Linked DNA regions of Homo sapiens: all the other regions are linked to region 1. The links are contacts of gene promoters, found by promoter capture Hi-C in blood cells and fetal thymus (Javierre and others, 2016). All regions are on one chromosome and are shown on one strand. Each heading gives the region's core, a stretch centred on a gene start or on the middle of the fragment in contact. The rest is flanking DNA. Distances are from core to core; before and after follow the strand shown. Region 1 holds the start of MIR1915HG (MIR1915 host gene). Region 2 overlaps DNAJC1 (DnaJ heat shock protein family (Hsp40) member C1). Region 3 overlaps DNAJC1 (DnaJ heat shock protein family (Hsp40) member C1). Region 4 overlaps DNAJC1 (DnaJ heat shock protein family (Hsp40) member C1). Region 5 overlaps DNAJC1 (DnaJ heat shock protein family (Hsp40) member C1).

Evidence for each region. The method cuts DNA at HindIII sites, captures the fragments that hold promoters and counts their contacts. A CHiCAGO score of 5 or more calls a contact.
Region 2: a fragment that was not itself captured here is called in contact with the fragment with the promoter of MIR1915HG in region 1 in 6 of 17 cell types (total CD8 T cells, activated CD4 T cells, non-activated CD4 T cells and 3 more); the score reaches 7.3 in total CD8 T cells.
Region 3: a contact is called between a fragment that was not itself captured here and the fragment with the promoter of MIR1915HG in region 1, in 9 of 17 cell types (naive CD4 T cells, activated CD4 T cells, non-activated CD4 T cells and 6 more). The highest score is 13.0, in naive CD4 T cells.
Region 4: a fragment that was not itself captured here is called in contact with the fragment with the promoter of MIR1915HG in region 1 in 7 of 17 cell types (fetal thymus, non-activated CD4 T cells, activated CD4 T cells and 4 more); the score reaches 8.5 in fetal thymus.
Region 5: a contact is called between a fragment that was not itself captured here and the fragment with the promoter of MIR1915HG in region 1, in 1 of 17 cell types (activated CD4 T cells). The highest score is 5.6, in activated CD4 T cells.

The regions. Positions count from the first base shown.
Region 1 is chr10:21,494,934-21,500,387 of GRCh38, forward strand. MIR1915HG (MIR1915 host gene) reads right to left here and starts at 2,327. Exons shown (of 2, transcript NR_160800.1): 1 at 1,817-2,327; 2 at 1-1,012. MIR1915 (microRNA 1915) reads right to left here and starts at 1,708; the gene lies at 1,629-1,708. RefSeq lists an enhancer at 1-383 and silencers at 808-1,247, 1,298-1,347, 1,558-1,807. The HindIII fragment of the contact is 8,649 bases long and covers 1-5,454 here.
Region 2 is chr10:21,974,002-21,979,434 of GRCh38, forward strand. The region is part of intron 1 of DNAJC1 (DnaJ heat shock protein family (Hsp40) member C1); the gene reads right to left. Among named protein-coding and RNA genes, the nearest start is that of DNAJC1, 27 kb to the right of the region's middle. The HindIII fragment of the contact is 406 bases long and covers 3,653-4,058 here.
Region 3 is chr10:21,956,414-21,961,614 of GRCh38, forward strand. The region is part of intron 1 of DNAJC1 (DnaJ heat shock protein family (Hsp40) member C1); the gene reads right to left. Among named protein-coding and RNA genes, the nearest start is that of DNAJC1, 45 kb to the right of the region's middle. The HindIII fragment of the contact is 7,617 bases long and covers 1-5,201 here.
Region 4 is chr10:21,994,766-21,999,716 of GRCh38, forward strand. All of the region lies in intron 1 of DNAJC1 (DnaJ heat shock protein family (Hsp40) member C1), which reads right to left. Among named protein-coding and RNA genes, the nearest start is that of DNAJC1, 6.5 kb to the right of the region's middle. The HindIII fragment of the contact is 6,758 bases long and covers 1-4,951 here.
Region 5 is chr10:21,925,756-21,930,590 of GRCh38, forward strand. DNAJC1 (DnaJ heat shock protein family (Hsp40) member C1) reads right to left here. Exons shown (of 12, transcript NM_022365.4): 2 at 3,285-3,386; 3 at 2,751-2,797. Among named protein-coding and RNA genes, the nearest start is that of DNAJC1, 76 kb to the right of the region's middle. The HindIII fragment of the contact is 270 bases long and covers 2,275-2,544 here.

The sequences.
Region 1 (5,454 bases), core at 1,077-3,576:
CACCCGCCCTCTGCTCTGCCGCTCCCGGTCCTGGGTGTGCGGGAGTCCCGGGGGTCCCTCTCCTGGACGCAGAGGAGGAATTTGGAGCAAAAGGAAGGGAATTTACTGCGGATGGCACCGGAACCTGAATTGACTTGTGCGTTTCCTGCTCTGGGCACGTAGGTTTCCCCTAGGAATCTGGAGTTCGCTGAGGACACTTAATTCCAAGAGATGATGGGTTCACATAAACATACCATTTAGTTAAGAAAAATATTTAAAATAAAGAAAAAAGAAAAACTGAACTTCGATCTTCTTCTCCACGTTCCCTGGTGTCACCAAATAAACAAAGCATTCGGACGAGAGTGGGCTGCTGGGGGCTCGGGAGGTGCGCGAGACAAGGTTACCCTGCGGGTCCGCCACTGCCCCCGGCCTCCAGCACTGCACTGCCCACGAGTTTGCGGGGTGTGAGCGCCGAAGGAGAACCCCGGACCGCCCAGTCTCAGCCTAAAAACTTGGATCCAAGAGTCCTACGGTTGTGGATGTGCCAGTCCTCCGCGACCCTTTCCTGCTGGCCTTCTGCTTTTTATAAACGAAAATAAAAGTTTGATTTAGGCTTAAAGAAATGTCATTCTGGTCGTTCCTCCCTGAAGCGGGACTTACTCAACCTCATATACTCGCCCGGAATTTTCAATCTCGCCTGTCGAAATCGCTAGCTGCGCATCCGCGGAAGAAGTCCTGGATGAGAGGTAGGGTGAAGGGATCAAGCAGATAGCAGCAGGCATCAGCACACTCCGGCCGTTCCGGACGGTCAGGCCCGCCGCTACAGGGAGAAGTGCGGCGGATGGAGCCAGGGCTGCGGGTTGCGCGCGGGCTGGGAACCCGGTGGTGCCACCTTAAGAGTCGGGTCCGCGCAGCGGCTGCGGAGGCGCCCGGCACCTGCAGGGGGCGCTGCTGCCCCGTGGTTTCTCCCGCGCCGCCGCGTGCAGCGGGCCTGGCAGCTCCGGGGCCCCGGTCCCCGGAGGGGGTGGGGACGCTGGGGGAGGAAGGGAGCGAAGTGCAGCCGTTAGGTAACGAACCCGAACCCTCCCGGATTCAGAAGCGGCCTCAGTGAGGCGTTTGCTGGAGGGAGCTTTCCATCATTCGGCCGCGAGAGGAAACGTGGGGAGGCGCCCTCCCCTGCCCCCACCGCCTGCCTTCCTGCCTCCCTCCACCTCCGCTCCCCGACCCCGACCGTGCTTCCCAGACCCTTTGTTCTCGAGGTTGGGAACGGCTGGGTGGGGGTTCCCCGGGGAAGAGGTCCCCCGCGCCGCTCGGAGGGGAAGGGACTGTCGCCTGCCCCGCACCCCAGCCCTCCCCAGTGCCGTCCCCCTTTCCCCCGGCCCCTTCCATCGCGTCCACGCGCTTCCGTTCTCACTCGGACTCCCCCAACTCCCGAGCTCCGGCTCCCCAGCCTGCACGGTCTGCAAGCCCGCCTCCCTTCCCACTTCCCCGCCACCTCTGAGGTCCCCGGGAAGAGGGGAGGAGAGGGAGACGTGTGGGGGAGGAGAAACCACAGAGCCTTCTCGGCGCGGAGCATTCCCAGGGACCCTTCCAGGCCCCGACCCCTGGGACCCGCTGCAGAGGCAGGGCTTTCCCGGCGCCGCCGCAGGTCGCTAGGGCCGCCCCCGCCGCGTCGCCCTGGGGCCCACGGGTGCACGGCCCGGGCAGCAAGGCAAGGTGCGGCCTCTCAGCGCCAGGACCCGAGACCCCCAGCTGGAGAGAAGGGGACACCGTGGTCCGCGCCCTGGGGAGGCTAATTGCACACGAACGCCCCCCTCTTCCCCGCCCCCCACCGTACCCTCTGCAGCGCCACCCGCGTCGCCTCTCCGCCGTGCGCCACCCTGAGGGCTCCCGCGATTGCATCTTCTTGAGCACAGTTACCAATGCGTTCAGCTTCGTTTCTTACTCGGATGGAGACATCGCGGAGGGAAGCGAGGGGACAGGGATGCGGTAGTAGGGGAAAGGTGGGGCGGGAAACCGAGCAGAGAGGTGGGAGACTTGGCTGAGGCAATGGCACCAGGCAGGGCCGCCCGGAGTCCCGAGTCCAGGTCCGCGAGGCAGGCCCCGGTGCAGCCGCGCCCCGGCCGAACCCTACATGTCCTCTGTACTGTGGACACGAGTCCGCGGAGCGCCAGTCACACCCCCGCACCCCTGCAAGCTCCCGCCGTAGAGGGGGCTCGGCACCATCCTGGTCACAAAGTACGTGCCCCCACCCCCCACCCCCAGGTGAAGAGGACGCAGCCCGGCGCCGTCAGCTCCAGGCTGCCTGGAGCCCCCTCCGGCCTCTCGGCGCGACCCTGGTCCTCAATGGCTCGTCGCGAGCTGCGCTAGCTGCTCTCTCGGCAGCGGGTTCCCCAGGACACACCCAGTCCCCACCCCCCGAGAGCTGGCGGCCAGCTCAGGATGCCAGGCGGCCAGGCGGGCGCCCTGCCAAATTCCGCGTTCCTCTCCAGGAGACGGGGAGTTGCGTCCCAGGCTCGGGAAAGCCCGCAGTTCGGGCTTGGGACTCGCTTACAAAGCCCCCCAAGGCGCCAGGGACGCCTCTGCAGGTTGAATTCCTGCTCCGTATCACTTCAATTTTAATTAATCTTTTAAAACACCGCTGTCACGTCGCTTGCAGAAAATTAATCAAACTTGAATCCTTGTTGCATAGCAAGAATTTCGATCCGAGTCTTTTAAAAAGGACTTGACTTTGCAAAGTCACGTCTTTTACAGTTCCCTCATTCCCCCTTTAGCAAGGGAAATACTGCAAAAGTCAAGACATGTTTGTTTGGTTCTTTCTATCTTCAAAATGAAACTTTGCTTATTTCTGATCTTTATTTTCCTGTCTTTGAACAAAAAAAAATAACGAGATAAATTGCCTACCTCGATTAATTCAAAGTATAATTACTTTGAATGATCTTTGTTTAAGAGCCCAGATAAACTAAGATAATCTTAATTTTAATGTGACACGACCCCTATTTTTCCTTGTGAATAATGAGAATAAAGCAGTCATTAATTAATACCAAGATATCTCCATAGAAGATGGTATCTGTTCTCGCTGAGACACTGAAACATCAGTTGTATTAGTAATTGATACTGTATAATTGAACATGAAGATAGCCGTCTATTTTTAACCTCCAAGCTCAGAGTTTATTTGGTGATTATTGAGCTCCTAATAATTAATTTTTTTCCTTCTTACTGCATAAATAATTCTTACGACTCCCAGTTCCCATGCAATGCAGAGGCTTCTCATTAAAACCTACCCCTCAAAATATAAGATTGTGAAGCTATATTGTGCAGCAACTCCTTCTATTTCATTATTTGTAACATATTTCCTCTATTTCATATCTTCCTGGTGCATTTCCTTTGCTGTGATTTTCCTACTAAATCTATGAGAATATAACTATAACATCTTTTACCATAGCTTTGTCTTTCTGTGATCTCTTGGTTCAGTTTAATACACAATACTTAAGACTTCAATTTTTCAAGTTACTAAAATTTGAGGATGAGTTCCACTGAAGAATCAAAAATACTTGTATAGTGAAGTTGCCATGGATTATATTCCCAACCTAACACACAGTCCACTTTAACTCACACTTTTCTGTTGTTAAAAATAGACTTTGCTCAAACACATTCCCTTTTTCCAACTTGAGTTGAAGAGAGTTCTCACAATTTCCTGGGTTAAATGTACATGCTAACACAACCTTTGACATTAAAAAACAAATTCCCCTCCCGCGTTGGAGAGAAGTCTTCCAAACAGTCATGGAAATTTAGACTGTAGCTTTAAGGTATCTAATTATTTCTTAGCCTCAGTTATTTTGGGGCATCAGAATGATCTTCACTTTTTAAGTGGAAATGGTTATGATATTTTTCTCATACATACAAAAAACTCTCTACTTATTTTTCCAATAAAGTGTCTCCCAAGTATGACATGTTGTATACCACACAAATATTCTTAGTACCTCCGCTACCAAATCCATGCATTTTCCCTGTCAGTGCTCTATCTAAAATTCTGGAAAGTATAGAGGGTTTCCACTTTTATTTCCCCCTTAGTACAATTAAAACTTTAGGTCAATATATAACGGAGTGATTCTCTGCACTTGGATTTTATATTTTCCCACTATAATTTGGACTGGAATGGGATTAAAACAGCATCTAGAGTTCTAATCTTGGTTGATGTTTTGGTGTATTCACCGTAATGAGTCCTATTCTCTGGGGTCATGAAGCTCCCAAATGTCAATCAAGCAAACAGATTCAGAAATGCCATTGTTCGACTCCCACGTCACTCGCCTTCCTCTCATTTTATTTAACAATACCGGAGTTCTCTGATCAGTCATTCGGAATATGAGGCATTATCTGGGGAAAATTCACAAAGTGTCTTGATCTTTCTTTGGGAGATACTGTTAAGGGGTTTCCGCAAAGCATAAAGTGCTTGTTTATATTTCTGTCTTTGGACCGCACTGTGGATGGAAAGAACCAATGAATACTGCTTGAAAGGAAATCATACCGTAAATCCGTCAAAAATTAATTCGTCCAGTTGAATGTTACATTTCTATTTTCTGTTTTCGTGTTGGAAGCACCCTGATTTGTCACCAGAGGAGAAGTATGACCAGGTCTGGGTCCAGTTGACATGCCCCCACGTTCAACCCTGTCTATTTTCACCACTTAATACTATTAATGTGTTTAGTCTAAACTAGTTAACTAAGAATTTATTTGGGGGCGAGGAAGAGCCAACCTTTGCCCTGGGAGTTCTACCCAGCCCACTCAGCTACGTCCGGGAGCCTCCGCAACTCGCATTTCCCAGTCGCAACCCTGGGTCATTCCTGCCTCCGTCCCAGCTCCCGGACAATTCCCAAAGCCAAAGGCGTCGAGCGTGTTACTGGCTCCCACCAGCCCAAATTAATAATCAGCTTAACTCGTGGAGGCTTTGAGCCCCAGTGCTCCGTTCCCTGAAGCCTCCCAGTGCGGAGCCCGGCTCCTGCGAGGACATCCTTGGAGGGGGGCCGGGGCGCAGGGACGGATTTCCTGGGAAAAATTGTCGCTGGCGTGTTGCACCTAGAGGGCTGTGGGCAAGGAGGCACGCACCAATGTCCCAGTTCTGGGCTCTCAGATCGGGATTCCTCCAAAATCGCGACAGCCGCTCAGGTGCTGGGTGCTCACGTTGGCAGCACAGAGCGCCAAATGCACGACCCCGCGCGCCGCGCGCGACCTCCACGCACACTTAGAGCCGAGGTGACAAGGGAAGGCGGCGGGGGTGGAGCCGCTCTCTGGTGGAGCATGATCAATCACTTTAAAGGGTTCAAAAGTTCCAAGTTCCCCTTTGGAGGGGAGAGGTAATGCTTCCCGCGGCCTGCTTCTCTCTGAGACCCGCGGGTTCCCGGCAGCCGCGCAACCACTGGGGATCTCGGCTGCCGCTTGCGGGAGCCCCTTCCGGGGAACACGCTCTCCGGGCCG
Region 2 (5,433 bases), core at 2,606-5,105, 480 kb after region 1:
TGAGGCAGGAGAATCACTTGAACTTGGGAGGCAGAGGTTGCAGTGAGCCGAGATCACGCCACTGTACTCCAGCCTGGGCAATCGAGTGAGACCCGTCTCAAAAAAAAAAAAAAGAAAAAAGAAAAAAAGGAAAAGAAATATGATTTTCAATAGTAACCTACCAACCAGATAGGTCTTAACACTTTTCTTTTCAGTAATGAGGAAGTTAGGCTCAACCTAACCAGTTAAAATGAAAATTTAAACAAAATGGAATTTTCACCCTCAAGAACATAGGAAATGTAGAAGTCTGACTAGAATGTCAAATACCGATTAGGGTATGGGGAGTGAAATCAGTACGGCCATTTTGGAAAGTAATTTTGCTATGTCTAGGAAGATTCAAAATACTATGTAACCCGTGATGCAGCTAACCCATTCTGGGTACATAATCCAGAGCCGATTAAGATGCACAGCACAAAATTTATGATTAAGATACACAGCACAAAATTTATTTTGTATCACACCATAAACTTTTTTATTGAAACCTACAGTAGGAAATACATTTTATATCACAACTCAGAACACAATTACATATATTTCATGAAAAAGTAAGTACCTTTTACCCTGACACTTTGTACTGCATTCTATTCTGAAAAGTACAGACTCCAACTTACTACACTGCCTTCGTTACCTGCTGTTTGGAAAACACTGCTCTAAAAACCTGTAGCAATATATACAAGACAACATTTATAAGGTTGTTCACTGTGATATTGTTTAAAATGGAGAAAAAACGATGTTACTTACATATTCATTAATAGGTAGATAACTGCAAAATACAATGTAATATTATGAAGTAATTAATGGTTTAAAGTAGATTTCTCTATGTAATGTAATATGTATACTTCTTATGTAATATGTATACATCTTAAAAATACAATGCAGGGTGAAAAAAACAAGAAAAAATGTTCCCAGAATATCATTTATGTAAATTTCTAACAATATCATATTATGTTTATGAATATATATACACAGATATAAAATTATGAAAATGGTATGGAAGTATATATTTTAATATATTAACTCACAGTGGACTAGGGGTACTCATACAGTATAGGCTGGTTAAAGAGGACTTCAGCATTATATATGTAATGTTTTCATTTTTGAAGAGCTATTTAAATGTTACTTTAAAATAGTTATTTGAAAGAGTTGCAGCAAGTTCTGAGAATTTACTTGGTAAAATGGGAGTAGAGGCGAGAAGAAATGAGGTATAAAGGAGTAGAACCAGGTTATTAATATCCCAATGCTCAAATCAATGAATATGAGAAAAAAATAAGCTGCAATAAATAAATAAATAAATAAATGAGAAAGAGAGTGAGAGAGAGAGACCAAAATCACAGACTAAGGAATTATTAGGGAGGTATATAGCAATAGCTGGGGGAAAAAACATGAAGTGGGCTGAAAAGGCAGGAAGAAAAGGCCTAACAACTGGTAAACTGATCCATTCCTCATTGGTGGTTCAACTGTATAAATAAAAGGGTGGCAGCTTAGCGGGAAAGTACTTAGCAACTCTGTTTACACAGACAATAGAAAGTGCCACTAGAGTGGCAAATTGAACTGTGCAAGGCCAATTAACCCTTTCACCTTAGTGTTTCATACTAGCTATCTTACTTACTGTCCCTCTGTTAGATCTACACTGATAAGTGTTAGGACCAAATGCAATTATAAATCATTGTTACATGTATTGATGAATTCTGCAAATTCCATGAAGCACATTAATTTTACTTAGTGTTCTGAATACCTTCTTTGCTGCTCTCATCTGGTTTTAATTAAGAAACACTTTCAAAGGAAGAGAGGTTATCCAGAAACTCAAACTACACATGTCCTTCATTAAACTATGAATTGATTACTATTCAACTTTTTTGGCCTAAAGGTTTTTTTAAAAAGTTAGATTCACCTCAAGTTTCTTCTAGATAAATTATGGGAAAATTAGGGAAAGAGTAACATATTTAGATGGGCAAAAATATAATAGGGAAATCTTAAAATGCACTGAAGAGGTCCATAAATTAGCTGCTGCATAAGCAGCTTTATCTATATTACAGTTTATTACTTTTAAGAGAAACTTTGAATCTTGAAGGACCATACAATAAGATTTTTTTTCAAAAGACAGTAATAGATTTATTGCTGGAAACTGTATTCATCTTCCTGATTCCAAAATACAGTCATGTATCTTCTTTATCCATATTTGAGAACCAGGATCAAATTTTTACATAGCCTACAAAATCTAGAAAAGTATATACCAACCAGGCATGCAACATTTGGTAATGAACATATTGTAAAATGTTGGCATATGTAAAAGGCTTTGATTCTATGAGGTAGGGCCAATAATAAAAGCATGTGATTGTTCAGTCGTAAACTAAGGCAATCCATACAAACATTTATTAACTGTTACACTGTCTTTTCCCTACTACCCACAGGTCCTGAAAGTACCAACATCATCCCACTGTCATCTGAAATTACATGCCACATCTTCTTCTGGCCAGTTATTTGTCACTGAATCTTTGTAGTAATAATTCCTAAGACGCTAGTCAAATAATAGGAAAATGCCAACAGACCATATTAGTGGGGGAGAGTTAAAAGGAATATGTACATACTGTATTTCTTAACCCATCAAAAATCAACAGAAGTCTGAAAAGGTTACCCTTGCATTTTAGGAGTAAGCGATGTTTTCCAGTTCTGTTTTTTTTCTCAGCTCTTCCCACTAAGCAACAAAACGCAAACGAGCTAGAGAATTCTGCCTTCCTTATGCTACAGAGGCTATGTTTAATGACTCCTGTGGCCATGTTAAAATCAGTGGAGGAAGAGACAAACACTGCAGCTTCTGCCTTTCTCTAAGTCTTCTTGAATGCCGCCGGCCCACCCACTAGGCTCCCCTATTTCTCTTTTCTTCCGTAACAACAACAGCACAAACATTGCAAAAGCAACCAATCAAAACAAGTAGCATCAGTAAAGGGGCAATGGGGCCAATGGTAAGCAACAGAAGCAAAAAGCAGTGACAGTCTCCAATTTGCTCTCATCAATGAGTCAGAGCATACTAAGGCTTCTTTGTACGTAGGTAGAGAACATGGTGGACACTCACACTGCTGGCCTCTTACTCTCCCGGCAATTCTCACAAACACAAAAGTAGAATCCTAGGACTCAGTACTTAAATACCAGAACAACATTCAAGACCTTATCTTAGCAATTTTTTAAAAAGAAAACTACCACACTTAAGAAATGAAAAAAACACACACACACACACAAAATGACTATGCAAGTAAACTTTTATTATGTAGCTAAAAGCTGCAATTTAGATAGTCTAATTAATCTACAAAGCTCAGTTTCTATAAAACAACTATTAGCAGGTTTTCTTCAAGAATTTACTCCTTATTTTGTAGACATCCACGTGAACTAAAATATGAATCAAAATAACAACTCTAAAGGAGAAATAATTTCCCAAAGTAGTAATTACTAACTAAACCCAAGAAAAGACTTGTGTGGCTTAAAGAAGTACAGATATCTCTCTATTTATAGGCTGAACACCCTAATTCCAGAAGCCAATTTTGAACTTGAGTTTAGAATTGATTCCCAGTGCAGGGGACCAAAATATACATGCCCAGGCGCCAACAGTCAATTATTAAGCTTTTTTCACATTAAATAAAAGAAAAACATCTTAACACATCCAATACATATTTAAGTTAAGAGTCAGGAGGCTTATGTTATAGTGCAACCCTGCATATGAACATTATATTATTTTAAATCCCCACTTCCCCACCTGGATAGTGAGGGTTCCTAATCAGTGTTTTCTCTCTTTTGGAAAGCTGATGTGATTGTCTAATATAAAAATTCTTTGAAAAACCTACAGAAAAATAATAAGTAAATTTCTTTTCAAAGTGACAAGGGAAAAAAAATCTATGCCCAAGATATTTTTCTACATTTGTACATCAAACCAATATTTAGATGATATTTAACAGCAAAAAGTTTTTTAACAATAAGAATGTCTGTTTTTTATATAGGAGCATTTGACTTATTTTGTAATTTAGATAAGCTTCAATAGTTTCTCTTCCTAAAGCTCTTTCACTCCTCACAAGTTCTTCCATCTATCTCATTCCTCATCATCCAAATATATATAGATTTTTCTTAACTTTTTAAATAGGTAATACAATATTCAAAAAGTACTTATGAACATAAAAGTTCCTGGCAACCAGTCACCCAGAAGCACATCTCCATCAAGAGGGAAATTTGAACAGAGGGAGAGAGAAACATGCAACAACATGCAAACTCTTTAAGAATTTCCATTATTTCTTGAAGCAACATTTTGTAGAACTAATACACTGATAAAGTATAGAATTTGAAAGCCTCTCCTTTCAGTAAAGTGGGAAAGTCGATTAGCAAGTGAAAAGATTGGCTCAGAACCTAGTAAGACAGGGGTCAGCAATTTCTTAAGCTTGAAGTGCTTTCAGTAAAGCCAGACAATGCTAGGGAATAGCACACACAGGCCTAGTATTTACAGACAACATGTGGCAGTCTATCAGTTGATTACATTTTGTCTTCCAATACTATCAAATTATTTCCTGTATGTAAAAGGCAGGAATCCTACATTTCTGTCAAAGATTCCACAAAACCTGGCAGTGCTAGTGACTACTAAAGTAGATGAAGAAGTAGAATGAGTCACAGGAAAAAGAGGGAAAAGACTGGAAACATACACAAACTTCCCACAAGAGCTGATACAAGACCCAAGAATCCTAAGGTAAAAATACTTTTAAAAACTGTATCATGAAGCCACCATTTATTCAGAGTCTGTAAATTCAGTAAGTGATATGTTTATACAATGTTATCAGAAACATCTAAGGCTATAAAAAATACATATATAGGAAATACCGACTCTGGCTAAACACACTGTCACTGAGGTGTAATCGGTTACTCAGATTATTACAGATTAATTACCTCTATGACTTTTTTAATTTGAATGATCTTATATACAATTAGTAAACAGCGGAATGATATTCTTATAATGCAGAGTTAGGTATGTAAGTTCGACTTGATTTTTTTTTCCCCTGGCACATTCATTTTTTTTTAATGATCCAAGATAAGTTTTCTTGCAATTAAAGACAAAACCTTAGTAAAATATGAAGATCTTTTAAAAAAAACCAGCTAGAAATCTATTAGACGTGCCTTCTATTAATATAAGTAGTAGCTGGTTTTGTGGCTTCAAGAACTTCTATGGTTTCTACTATGTAAAGCTATCTGATCAATCTCTGAGTGCAGCTCAAGAAGCTGCAAAGACATTTCCTTCATTTTCAAAAGGGCTCTTATCTGAATCATATGTATTTTTATTCAACTGATCTAAAGAATCTATATCCCAAATAAGGAAGCATGAGAACAAGGGTTTAAAGGATTTTAAGAACTATGATGCCAGGT
Region 3 (5,201 bases), core at 892-3,391, 460 kb after region 1:
TCTAATTAGAAAAAAATTATTAATTAACCATAGGTTTGAAAGTTAATAGATTAAATAAGAGGACACTAGAGGTATTATTTTCAAGAGTGCTGCTTATATATACACATATAAATTTATGTACATACACATAAATACACATACATATATAAATACATATTTATGTACATATATAAACATATGTATATAAATTATATAAATATAATTTTTATTTATATATAAAACACCTCTCCCATTACCACAATGGGCCAAGCCACTATAATTTTTTGCCTGGATCATTACAAAATCTAACATATCTCCCAGCTTCAGACCCTACCTGGCACCTTGCCTCAACAGTCTATTTTCAGCACAGCAGCCAGATTAAAACAAAAAACAGATGCAGTTAAAAGCCTCCAACAGTTTATACATAACACACACACACACACACACACACACACACACACAAGTAGGTGTAAATTTTTCTTTTCAGACAATTCTTATTTCTAGATTTTTTTTTTTTTTTTTGAGACAGAGTTTTGCTCTGTCGCCCAGGCTACAGTGCAGCGATCTCGGCTCGCTGCAACCTCCGCCTCCCGGGTTCAAGTGATTCTCCTGCCTCAGCCCCCCAAGGAACTGGGATTACAGGTACCCGCCACCGCACCTGACTAATTTTTGTATTTTTAGTAGAGACAGGGTTTCACCATCTTGGCCAGGCTGGTCTTGAACTCCTGACCTCGTGATCCACCCGCCTCGGCCTCCCAAAGTGCTGGGATTACAGGTGTGAGCCACTGCGCCTGACCAGAATTCTTTGTAATAACTTTAACCATATGTATTTTGCCAATCCCTGATTATAGCACTGTTTCTTATTTCTGATTATTCAGAAACCCTTTAAAGAAAGCATGGAAGAATAAAGCCTCCTCTATTCACTTAACTTTATCATTAATACTTTCATTGTCATCTTAATTCTTTTCCTCTATTATCCTATTTGTTTTTACTGCTGTAAATAAATTGTACATATTATATTGTACCTTCCTTTTGTCAGTATATATAAAAGTTTCCATTTTACTTCATAAATTTAATAAAGTAATGTTTATGTTTATGGTCAAGTAATGTTATAGCTCCACTGAGTTAATTTAGTATAATCTACTTACCCATTCATATTTGATCTTTGCAATAGTTCTGTACTATATCAAATTGGCAACTAAACATTTTTCATGTGTTTACTTTCTTCTCTATCACCACGGCCATTATTTAGGCTTTACTCATCTTTTTTCCTTTTCAGTTATTTAGTCTCTTTATACTTTGCTTTCTGTCAATTACACAAGTAACACATGAATAAATAAATACATACATTCTTCTTCAAAGCCTCATTCTCTCAACAGAAGTAATTATCATCAGTTTGGTACATATACTTCTCAATATTTTTTTAAAAATGTGCTTACTTTCATATATGTGTACATGTAGAAATGTTCCACTTTCTTTAAGTGATGGTACATTAAGTGACGGCAAACTTAATGTACTATTATTAAGCAAAATACCTTTCTTATATTAAAACAGGCTCATAATACCTGCTTCTGTCCATTCACATATTTCTCTACTGGGCTTTACTGTAATATTCAGTTTCATATAAGATATGCTACCTAACACTGGTTTTACCAAGGATTTGGCTTTTTATTAGAAGCATATAATTGAGAATACCATTGTATTAAATATATACTATTTTAAAACAGAAACATATAAGTAGAAACCTGAAACTAAAACTATAATGGAGTTAAAAAGTTCAACCAAAATTTCTCCATATAATACTAATAAAATTTTAATCCAAATGATTGAGAAATGAAGGTTTTTTTCTTTCTTTCTGGTATTTATGTATTTTTAACAGCTTTATTTAAGTATAATTTACAAACCATAAGAGTCACCTGTTTTAAGTGTTTAGTGATTTTTAGTACATTTATATAGTTCTGCAACATCACGATAATCTAGTTTTAGAATATTTCCATCAACCCAAAAAGATTCCTTGTACCTGTCTCCACAGATTTGTCTTTTTTTTTTTTTTTGAGACGGAGTCTCGTTCTGTTGCCCAGGCTGGAGTGCAGTGGCGCGATCTCGGTCACTGCAACCTCCGCCTCCTGGGCTCAAGCGATTCTCCTTCCTCAGCCTTCTCAGTAGCTAGGACTACAGTGCGTGCCACCACGCCCAGCTAATTTTTCGTATTTTTAGTAGAGACGGGGTTTCACCGTGTTAGCCAGGACAGTCTCGATCTCCTCACCTCGTGATCCACCTGCCTCGGCCTCCCAAAGTGCTGGGATTACAGGAGTGAGCCACCGCGCCTGGCCCAGATTTGCCTTTTCTAGGCATTTCATATAAATGGAAGGGATGAGGTTTTTCTGATATATTTAAACGTCAGATTTGGCAGAAAAAAAAATCACTATTTTTTTTGCAGAAAAATTTTGCTGTTGAACTTCTTTCTAAAAGTTATTAACATGCTTTGTTCATTTGGTAAGAACATTTTGAATATAACAGAGCTCCTTCTCCTTCTTTACTTCCTACCCTTCCTTCTCTTCCTTTTACCAGTTTATGCTCTTTTAATATTTAACAATCTTTACTCTCAACAGCCCGGTTTCTCAGTACAGAATGCATGGAAGGTATGAGGAATTGGCCTTTCTAGTTCAACTCCACTAAATATCCTGATAGTTTAACAGGAAAACAAAACACCAAGAAATCCAACATACTGAACTTTTTTCTTTTTTTCTGAGATGGAGTCTCGCTCGGTTACCTAGGCTAGGATGCAGTGGTGAGACCTTGGCTTGCTGCAACCTCTGCCTTCCGGGTTCAAGCAATTCTCTTGCCTTAGCCTCCTGAGTAGCTGGGATTACAGGTGTCTGCCACCAGGCCCGGCTAATTTTTTTTGTATTTTTAATAGAGACGGGGTTTCACCATGTTGGCCAGGCTGGTTTTGAACTCCTGACCTCAAGTGATCTGCCTGCCTCAGCCTCCCAAAGTGCTAGGAGTACAGGTATGAGCTACTGCGCCCAGCCACACTGAACATATTATATCCTCGAGATGTTTTAGTTTCTCCTGAATGTGGAATACATTTTTAAAACACTGATGAGAAATCCGGCCAAGCACTGTGGCTCATGCCTGTGATCCCAGCACTTTGGGAAGCCATGCAGATCACCTGAGGTCAGGAGTTTGAGACCAGCCTGGCCAAAATGGTGAAACTCTGTCTCTACTGAAAATACAAAAATGAGCTGAGCTTGGTGGCAGGTGCCTGTAGTCCCAGCTACCCGGGAGGCCAAGGCAGGAGAATCACTTGGACCTGGGAGGCAGAGGTTGCAGTGAGCCGGGATAGTGCCGCTTCACTTCAGCCTAGGCGACAGAGGGAGACTCCATCTCAAAAAAAACAAAAACAAAAAAAAAAAAAAGAAGAGAGAAATCCATTTTATACAGATCTCCTAAAATCTGTAATGTTATCTCCAAATGTAACTCCATCTCCCAAAAATTTTGGTGTCACTTTTGACTCCTCTTTCTCTCACAGTCCACATTCAATTCATTAATAAGTCTTGTTGGGTCTACTATCAAAAGCATACTCAGAATCTGAATACTAACACCCTTACCATTACCACAATGGGCCAAGCCACTATGATTTTTTGCCTGGATTATTACAAAATCTAACGTATCTCCCAACTTCAGCCCCTGCCTGGCACCTTCTCTTAACAGTCTATTTTCAGCACAGCATAGAGATTAAAACAAAAAACAGATGCAGTTAAAAGCCTCCAATGGTTTTCCATTTTACTCAGATCAAAAGCCAAACTCCTTAGTGGTTATCTTAGGAATTACAATTAACATCTTAAACTTGTAACAACCTAGTTTAATTTAATCTAGATAACCACTAAGAAAATAACAGGAAAGAACAGAATCAAAATAGTACACCATTTAAAAAATCAACTAAATACAAAAACAGGCAGTAATTGAAGAATTCGGGAATAAAAACATGTAAGATATAGAAAACAAACAGCATTAAAGGAAACAATCAAGAAAGTGACAACTAAGGCCGGGTGCCTATTATCACAGCACTTTAGGAGACTGAGATAGGAGCATTACTTGAGCCCAGGAGTTAAAGACCAGCCTGGCCCACATAGTGAGACCTTGTCCCGACAAAAAAATTACAGATATTAGCCAAGCATGGTACTTGGAGGCTGAAGTGGGAGGATCACTTGAGCCCTGGAGGTTGAGGCTGCAGTAAGCCAAAGTTGCACTGCTGCACTCCAGCCCAGAGGACAGAGGGAAGACCCTGCCTCCAAACAAACAGTGAAAACTACAGAAGGAGAAAAATATTTGCAAATCATATGTCTGGTAAGGAGTTAATATCCAGAATACATAAAGAACTCCTACAACTCAACAACAAAAAGACAAACAATCCAATTAAAAAATAGGCAAAGGCACCGTGGCACATGTATACATATGTAAGAAACCTGCACGTTCTGCACATGCATTCCAGAACTTAAAGTAAAATTTCAAAAAAATGGGCAAAGGATTTTAATAGATATTTCTCCACAGAAGATAATACAATAGCCATGAAGTATATGAAAATATGCCATCATTAGCCATTAAGGAAATGCAAATCAAAGCCACAATATATACCACTTCACAACTACAATCATTATAATTTTTAAAAAGGAAAATAATGTGTTTTTGAGGATGTGGAGAAATTTGAGCCTTTATACATTGGTAGTGGGCTCCAACAGTGCAACTGCTTGTGAAAAACAGTAAGATAGTTCCTCAAAAAGTTAAACACTGAATTACCATATGATCTGGCAATTCCATTTCTAGGTATATACCCAAAAGAACTGAAGGCATAAACTGAAACAGATACTCGTACATCATCGTTCACAGCAGCATTATTCACAATAGCCAAAGGTGAAAGCAACCCAAATGTTCATCAACAGATAAATGGATAAACAAAATGCAGTATATACATACAATGGCTATGATTTATCTATAAAAAGGATTGAGGTACTGACACACACTACAGCAAAGATGAACCTTGAAAACATTATACTAAGTGAAATAAGCCAGATACAAAAGGACAAATATTGTTATGATTCCACTTATAAGAAATATCTAGAATAGGCAAATCCATAGAGACAGAAAGTGGATTGGAGGTTACCAGGGGTTGGTGTGGGGGAAGGGGAAAAGGGTGGTTATTGCTTAAAGGGTACAGT
Region 4 (4,951 bases), core at 1,685-4,184, 500 kb after region 1:
GGGTGACAAAGCGAGACTCTGTCTCAAAACAAACAAACAAAAAAACACACAAGAAGTCTATTTCCTACTACATATAAAAGATCCATAAAGAAATATTGTATGATATAATTAAAACACAATTTCCAGACTTCCTACTTTATATATATTTATATTATATATACTTATATATTAATATATTATATATATTTATACATGTTAACTTCCGCAAATCAAACTTAATCACCAACTATCAATACAAAGCACCACTTTAAGTCAGAAAAGAACCTAAATAGTAATCTTATCTGTTAACGAAAAGTGTGGTAATTGAAAATAACTGCCAATAAGATTTGCAATTAAAAAAAATTTTCTAAAAGTCAGAGGTTTCTTTTTAAAGTATAAATTCAGTTGGTCATGGAATAGATTCCTTAACCTGACCTGTTTTAATGGTATAAATAAAGTCCTTAAGTATTGACTAGAAATAAGAAGTTTCTACCTTCCTCATGTGTACGGACCCTAAGATTTCTTCATGGTCTATTCATACTTTCCCAGTAAATGGCAACAATGATCTTTTTCTTTCTGGTCATAACTCATTTTGACTACTGCTCACTATACAGGCCACAGTTGAGTTTCATGTAACAGTTTAAAATTCTATTTCCTTCTATAACCAGGAGTTGTATGTATTCCAGAATGTGTTTAACCAAGGAAATTACGTCATTTTAGAATTCTAGTATTTGCTCTTAGTGGCATCTTAACGTTGCTCTTCTCCATTTTAACACTGCTGCATATACTATGGCATGTCCTTTAATTCTTGATCTTAGATTATTAGCTTTAATATTAAGCAACTCAAATATATTAGTTAACTGTGTAGCTGCACAGAGCTTAATGCCTACTGCCTCAGTAGCAATAAAACAGGCATCCATCTGATAATGAAGTATACTGTTTTATACACATATTCTAACAAAAATGTAGAACGTGGCATGCCCTTGCTTTTGCAATATGCCTGGTTACATGTGAGATTTCAGTTGCTGGATGATGTAATCAGAAACACTTATCAAATATGGTGAATGAATCCTCACCTTGCTTAATTTAGTATTACATAAGATGGGAAATGAAACATAAATTCTAGATTAAATTTCTAATTAGGTCCTTATGACACGCTTAGACAAAAAATTTCAGTAAATATAAGTAATACTCAAATATCAACTATTCAGTTCTTAAAATGAAATACTATGCTGTTATTTAAAACATGTAATCATATTTTTACATTCATTAGTATAGGGCCCATCTTTTACAATTAAGTGTTTTGATGAAAATAAAGATTTTTGAAAATATGACTGTGACTTCATTATAAAATGATCTAGGGTCCTGCTTCATCCAATCAGAAATCTCTCTTTCCACTGCAATTCCTTTCCTTTATTTTTGTATAACTCTGTAAGAAAGGCTTTGGAATTGTTTTCAACTAGGTGGAATTAACTGGTATCATTACTGTCTAAACAGACCCAATAATGCCCACAGTGGAAAACAGTTCTGAAAGTCACATAGTACCATTTATGGAATAAGCAGTTCACTGAGAGAGAGCATAACAAAGCTGAGAAAAGGTTTATTACAGACACTAGGCATTTTATCAAACAACTTTTATTGGCATTACTTACAACTGCCATATAAATTCTCCTCTCAGCAATCAAGTCAAATAACCTCAACCTCTGTTTTATTCTCAACATTGAACAAAATATGATTGTGAAATTAACCACATTAAACCAATCACTAGGTAAACTGGTAACCCATATAACGTTTTAGAATATATTTCTAGGAATAATTGTAATAGCAGAAGCCATTCCACTTTCCCAGTTCAACTTAGGCTATTGTCTATGAATAACAAAAGATACAATATTCTAAGAGTGTTCTCATAATTAGTGTAAAGAAAAAACTGAGAATAGCATAAAAGGAAAAAGGAAACTTAAAACTAAAAGAAAGTCTCTGTTCCATCAGCTCTAGATTATATGTGGCAAAATTTTCACAATAGACTTGCTTTATCCCATAAAATTGGCTCAGGCATCTTCCACTAAACTATACATATCACAAAAAGAGTGTGTACATAAGAAAACTAATTTTATGATAATTCTATCTGATGCAAAGATGTATACAATTAAACAAGTACTTATTCAGCTCTAACGCTATGCATGCCTACATCAGAAATATAAATGACTGAAAGGTTATCTACCATTCTAGATTCTGTGTATCTCTTTCTCCAAATTAAAAAAAATTGGATTCTACAATAAAAATGGGGAAGCTATTATTACACAACACACATGTACAAAGGAATAGACTCCACAGAGAAAGACTGAACTACACTCAACACCACAAGCTCAGTGGATTCCACTGCAAGAATCACTGGACAAAATTGATAATCACAGTACAAATTCACCATCATTCATGAATGAAATCATCATCTTCATTTCTAAAAAGGACTGTGATGGGCTTTAGGGAGGCCCCATTAACTGGTTTTTCCCATCCAAAAAACTGAGTGGACACAGGAGTCGGGCAGACAAGAGATGAACCTTTATAACTGATACAGCTATTGAAGAATACAGGTTAAATGTGATGGCCAAATGGGCTTGCTAGCAATTTGTGCCCTCTCCTCTACATTCTAGACTTTGAGACAGTATGCTCAAGGGTAAGTCTGGTTAGGATAATTGCCTTACTGGTCTGGGCAGAGAGGTGCAAAGAGACTGATTCCCACTACTCATAGCTTTCTGACTGATCAGCTCTTCCTAATCAAGCAAAACAGAGCAAAGGCAATCACCCTCCAGTAAGGTAACTCACACCGCCATGGTAAGATGTTAGAGATGGGTCTAGTGATCAGTGGTGTTTTTTTAGGGAAGTTCCTCCCAACCATGGGGCACGGATGAATGGGCAATAATTGTCCCTCCTCTAAACAGGCTAGCTAATCTGTACATTTGAAAATACAGGCCGAATGAGCTTAAAAGGTTTATTAATTCCTATCTAAAAATTAAAATCCAAATATTTTATAAGCACATCCCTGTTCTTCTGCTTTTCTTCTGTTAACCAAGTTTCAGCATTCATTTGAATATAAGGATTTAGTTATAAAACACGAGAGAAAGAGAATGAAGCACATTTTCTAGCTACATAAATAGAAGTCTGTAATGACTGACTGGCACCATGAAGACAAATCTTGACTTCAGCATAAAGTAAATACTACAAAATTTAAGATAATTTAGCTTGTCATTATTTCAATTCACAGATTTTTTTAAATGAATATGAAGTGTTTACTGTTGGCTAGAATTACTGTATACAAAGGATAAGGAAAGTCATGGTCCCAAAAGACAATTAAAAGAAATATAGAGGCTGGGCGCAGTGGTTCACGCCTGTAATCCCAACACTTTGGGAGGCCGAGGTGGGTGGATCACCTGAGGTCAGGAGTGCAAGATCGGCCTGACCAACATGGCGAAACCCCATCTCTACTAAAAATACAAAATTAGCCAGGCATGGTGGCAGGTGCCTGTAATCCCAGCTACTCGGGAGGCTGAGGCAGGAGAATCGCGTGAACCCAGGAGGCAGAGGTTGCAATGAGCCAAGATCGCGCCACTGCACTCCAGCCTGGGCGACAGAGCAAGACTCCATCTCAAAAAAAAAAAAAAAAAAAAGAAATACAGAATTGCCACTGACCCCACAAGAAGTACAGGTGTCTGAGAAGCAGGTGCTGTTACACAAAATATAAATACTGTGCAGGAACCTATAATTTAAGATGGTAACGAAAGATCTTTCAATAGCACATCTTTTTTCCTACACTCCTCTCTCATCTTCCCCCCATCTCCTCTGAAAAGATGCAATATCCAAATTGGAGTGCCCTATTATTAAAGTCATTCTAAACATGGTATGAATGACTAATAAATCATCTGTATATACCCCCCAACAAAGACTTCTGCAACCCCTTTCTAGACTTCTAGAATGGACGTGAAATCTAAGGATACATGGAAGAAGATTCTTCTGCTGCCTGAAGGCTGTGAAAGATTACATAGAAGTAAAATCTGTTGAGTAAAAACTGTCAAGCAACTACTTGTTTGGGGAATTACAGTTTGCATTTAGTTACAATGTTTATAATGTTTGATTCAATAAATATTTAGGTGTTTACTATGTGCCTTACTATGAAGAAAATAAAAAGCTACCATCTGTCCTAAAAATGAGGCAACTAACTTGTCCAAGGTCATAAGGTGGTCTGGTCCAAGTTCTAAGTCATCTGTTATTCAGATTATAGAGCTTAGAGAGTAACTGAGTTATCTTATACCTGGTGGATAAGGGGATAAAGAAGATGCCACAGACAGTCACTACCATCTCTGCCTTCTAGTTTAGGATATGGATATCTCAAAAGAATGTTCTATATTAATTGTCTCCAATTCTTCCCTTTCATTCTCTCCTGAACCCAATCTACCCAGACTACTGAACTCACCACTTCACCAAAACAGTTCTTACTGAGGTAGCCTGTGACCGCCATACGGTTAATTCCAACGGTGAAGTCTCAAAGCTCATCTTATTTGAATCATCATCATCATTTAACCCAGCTGATCCCTTTGTCTTTGAAACACTTTTTTCACTTGACTGAAGAGAACCTTGTATTGGTTTGCCTCCTACCTTACTGGTCGTTCCTGCTCTATCTTCTTTGTTGATTCCCCTCCATCTTCTTGACTCTTTTTTTTTTTTTTTTTTTTTTGAGACGGAGTCTCGCTCTGTCGCCCAGGCTGGAGTGCAGTGGCACAATCTTGGCTCACTGCAACCTCCGCCTCCCGGGTTCAAGCAGTTCTCTACCTCAGCCTCCCGAGTAGCTGGGATTCCAGGCGCCTGCCACCACGCCTGGCTAATTTTTATCTTTTTAGTAGAAACGGGGTTTTACCATGTTGGCCAGGCTGGTCTTGAACTCCTGACCTCGTGATCCACCCGCCTCAGCCTCCCAAAG
Region 5 (4,835 bases), core at 1,160-3,659, 430 kb after region 1:
ATCAGTAATTGCCTGGAGCTGGAGATCAGGGTGAGGAACTACGGCAAATGGGCTAAAGCTTTTTTGAAATGATGTAAATGTTCTAAAACTGGACTGTGATGATGGTTTGCACAAGCCTGTAAATTTACTAAAAAGCACTTAACTGTACACTTAAAACAGGTGACTTTTATTGTATGCAAATTATACCCAAATAAGGATGTTAAAAAATCAAACAAAACTGGCTTTTTCTTTTGAGACAGGGTCTTGCTGTGTCGCCCAGGCTAAGCACAGTGCGCAACTTCCGCCTCCGGGGTTCAAGCAATCCTCCCACCTCAGCCTCCTGAGTAGCTGGGACTATAGGCATGTGCCACCACGCCAGGCTAACTTTTGTATTTTTTGCAGAGACGAGGTTTTGTCATGTTGCCTAAGCTGGTTTCCAACTCCTGAGTTCAAGGGATCTGCCCTCCTCAGCCTCCCAAAGTGCTAGGATTACAGATGTGAGCCACTGTACCCAGCCAGCCTTTCCTTTTTTTTTTTTTTTTTAACTAAAAGTTATTTGGTTTGTTAATTTATCAATTTAACTGCTATTCCCTTTTCCAGCAAAATTCAAATAATGCATCTGATTTCAGAGAAAACACAATTATATAAAAGGGAAATAAATAGGAAACATGTCTATGACAATTTCCCAAATTACCAATTCCTGGAAGGTTACACATTTAAAAGTATTATTTAATGAATATTTATAGTAAATAACTGTGATACCAAAATGCATTTTTTCATATCAATATGTAGATAATCTTCTTTTAGAAGATAATGCTGACTGTGCTCTTTTTTTTCCTAAAGGAATTATAAACATTAAGTAATTGTCTGCAGAGATGTCTGTCTCCTGTATGTTTAAATACTCATAGGTCACCTGGCCTCAGGCACAAGCTTTAGAGGAGTGATTCTTAGCTTCATTAGTTAAGACTTTTGCCTCAAGGAAAACCAGTTACCAAAGAGTTACTTGTGCCTCAAGGGGTATAAATACTACAGCTGTTTGTGTAACTGTCACATTCATTTTTTCTATCAACTGTCTAAAATAAATGAGAGAACTAATCCTGAAGAGATGATGTTATTTATTAATAGATGATTCCATGTTAATGAAGAAACAATTTATATATGAGAAGTGATTTGTTTTGAAAAGATAGAAATAATTTTGGTAACTGAAAGAAATTACAAAGTTTATTGACTTTTAAGATAACAAACAAAAAGAAAAAAACCTCAAGCCAAAAATATTAGAAAACTAAATAAAGCTACCTTTACAGGCACATTCTTGATGTGTGAAACAAAACTAGGGCTCACAGAGAAACCAACTAGAAAATATGCACAGAATGACCAAAACTTCTTTCAACACGCTTCTTGGACTCTTTCAACACTATGGATTATCTCAAACCAGAGGAATGTCTGCTATGGTATCTGGACCAATGCCAGCCCTTGTTATAAAGTGAAGAACACTTTAAGAGAAGATCTTGAATCCCTGTGCTTTGCAATCTGACAAGCAGAGGTATTCAAATTAAACGGTTAAGATGAGAATCAAGAATGGTAGCTAACATTTTAGGATACAGACTAATTCCAGATAATACATTTGAGGAAAGATTCAGAATGTAACATAGCACAATTTATAGGGTTGTCTGGAGATGTATTACCCCCCTAGTGAAGGACACAGATATTTAGGCTGGCTTTTGCCTAAATGTCAAATAGCCAGGTGTTGTTTTGTTTTGTTTTTTACAGGTACTCTTGTATCGTAGAACATTTTCAAATTTTGGATTGTGGTCCACTAGTGTCTCATGAAATGAATTTAGTGAACCACAACCAACATTTTTAAAAAATAAATAAATAAAAAACACCAAAAGACTAGTCTAGCCTAGAATAGAAAATAATGTGTTTAACATGCAATAAGAAATATCTTGTGAAACTATTGTTTTAGTTATGTGTGTGTGTGTGCGTATGTGTTGTGGTCTGACTTAAAAAACTTAGAAGGCTGCTGAAATGATGTCTACATTCCATACATTCTGTAGGAGTAGAGGAAAGGGGCCTCTGTGTAATCTCCTCTTAAGTCACTGGCATTATAAACTACTACATAAATATATTGCCAGTCTTCTGAAAGGGGCACAGAGAAGTCTTAGAGTGAGGGGCTACCTCCACTCTGAAGTTTAACCCTGAATGCAGAATTGCCGGAGCAGAGTAAAGGAAGGGAAGGAGGCAAAAGAAATAGATGCAAGAGGCAAAGTTTTCTTTCTTCTACAGGCTTACAGAAGCTTATATAACTGGGTTATTCTGAGAGTGAGGAAATATCAAGAAAGAGTACTAACTTGACTATCACTACAGTCTAATTCAAACATTTAAGGAATGGGGGGGAAAAGCACCAAGCATCAGGCACAGATAGGAGCTATTACTGACATATGGGAAGGAATGGACATTTATTTGAATTCAGGCAGTATTTGTATCTCCCAGGGCATAAACACTCATGTTAAAAGTCGTATTAAGGAAGCCCGGACTTGCTAACATTATGACTCAAAATCCTGAAGCTTGTATGTATCAAATCAATCTAGTGAATACTTTCAATAAAATTAACTCTGCTTCAAACACACATTTTTAAAACACTGCATTTCTCGGAAGGAACAAAAATAAAATGCTAACATAATAATAAAATGTTTAAGAAGACTTAATTCTTTATAAACTGTAGCATGAAACTATAACATCTTAATTCAAAAGCAGAAATGAACACTCACCTCTGCCTTCGTTCATCATCCTTTAAAACTTCATAAATGGCCACCAACTAAAATAAAAGCATTACTTTAAAATAAAAATACTCTCAACTATAAGAAATCACATAGGAGGGTGAAGGCACTACAATACACATGCAGAAAATCCTATGTGCCTATATATACAATAAACAGATGAAATCTCCTTTATAAGTAACACTATGTTTTGGTAGTACCTTAAGAGATTAAAAATGCTTGATATCAAAATAAATCTTTGTGACAGTTACAAAAGTAATACTTATCTTAAAATGTGCATTTAGAAGCAAAAGCTGTAATTTAGACAAGAAAATTATGACAATTATGACCCTCCAAGAATTTAGAGATGCTAATACAAAATAGTAAAAATGCATTTTGTAGAAACTTGAAAAAAAATATACACTATATTTTAAACTACTACCTCATTTTCAAATGAAAATATTCCATATATAAGTGAATATTTCTACCATCGACATGTTAATACATTTGTCACAAAATATATATATAATAGCATATTTCACTTACTTGTCTAAACTGAGTTTCTGCATTTTCATCTTTATTCTTGTCTGGATGTAAAGTTAGTGAAAGCTTACGATATGCTTTTCTGATGTCTGCAGATGATGCATCCTGGAGGTGGTAGGGGGAGGGGAAAATACAAAGCAAACTTTGTCAGAAAAAGAAATTCCCAGAACCTTGTTAAGATCTGAGAAGACAGCCAACCAAGTGCAGGACCCCAGGCAATGTAATTTGAGCAATCAGTCTTAACAACCAGGCTATGCAACAAGCCTGACCCACATGACTGAACAATTATTCAATCTAATTTGGCTCTCCTCTTAACTTTTCATTACCATACAGTCATTTAAAGAAGACAGTATTTGGCGAAACTTTTCAAACACTTGCCTTCCTAAAATTAACCAATAAATCTTTTTCAGTAATTAAGAGATCAAAAAGAAACAAATTAAAAATTAATACATCGGTGTGCCTTCAAAGAAACTCTTTATTTACTGGCAAATGTTAAAGCCAATTTCTGAATCCCGGGCTAACCATATGGTTTCTCTATTATTTATATTGAGTTTATCATCTCAGCAACAACCTATGGAATCTCACTTTCACATGTCAAAAAGCATGCCTATCTGAAGGGAGTTAAATTAGCATTTATCAAAAATTATTATCATTAGAAAGAGTTAAATATACTATACTTATTTACTTAGTACTTTAAAGGGTATTTTCAATGTTGGCCAGCCTCCTCAGTCTGGTTCATACAAATAAATTTGCCCAATATTTATGTATTACTTGTATAGTTTAAATATATTTAAAAGGTTACCGTGGTTCAGTACTTAGATTAAGTGGATATTAAAATTACATTTTATATAATCCTGTGTGCACAGGTAAAATCAGACAACATCATTTTTACATGGCCAGTATAAAATGCATAATAATAACAAAGAATACACTGTCAAGTAGGGTTTAAAACTTTTTTTGAGACAGTCTGATTCTACCACCCAGGCTGGAGTGCGGCGGCACAATCTCAGCTCACTGCAACCTCCACCTCCTGGGTCCAAGAGATTCTTGTGCCTCAGCCTCCAGAGGAGCTGGAATTATAGGCATGCGCCACCACACCCAGCTAATTTTTGTATTTTTAGTAGAAATGGGGTTTCCCCAGGTTGGCCAGGCTGGTCTCGAACTCCTGACCTCAAGTGATCCAACAGCCTCGGCCTCCCAAAGTGTAGGATTACAGGTGTGAGCCACCGCGCCTGGCTGGGGTTTAAAACTTGATCTGTATTAAACTTAAAGTGTATTAAAATAACATATTAATATTGGGCAAAATGATAGTAAACTTGCTTACTAAATGTCTCTCATTTGATAGCTGACTGTCTAATTAATTCCAAAAACTATTAAGAAGTTCAAATGATGAAAACACCAAACCAAACCAACACAAAAAATCTATATACCTGGGACTAAATATTATCAATAGTTTTTAAATAGAGTTGGAGAGAGACAAAGTGAGGCTATAATTAGTCTGTCAGGCTTGTCTTTATAAACCATTATTTTTATTATCAGTTTTCTGGGGCTTGT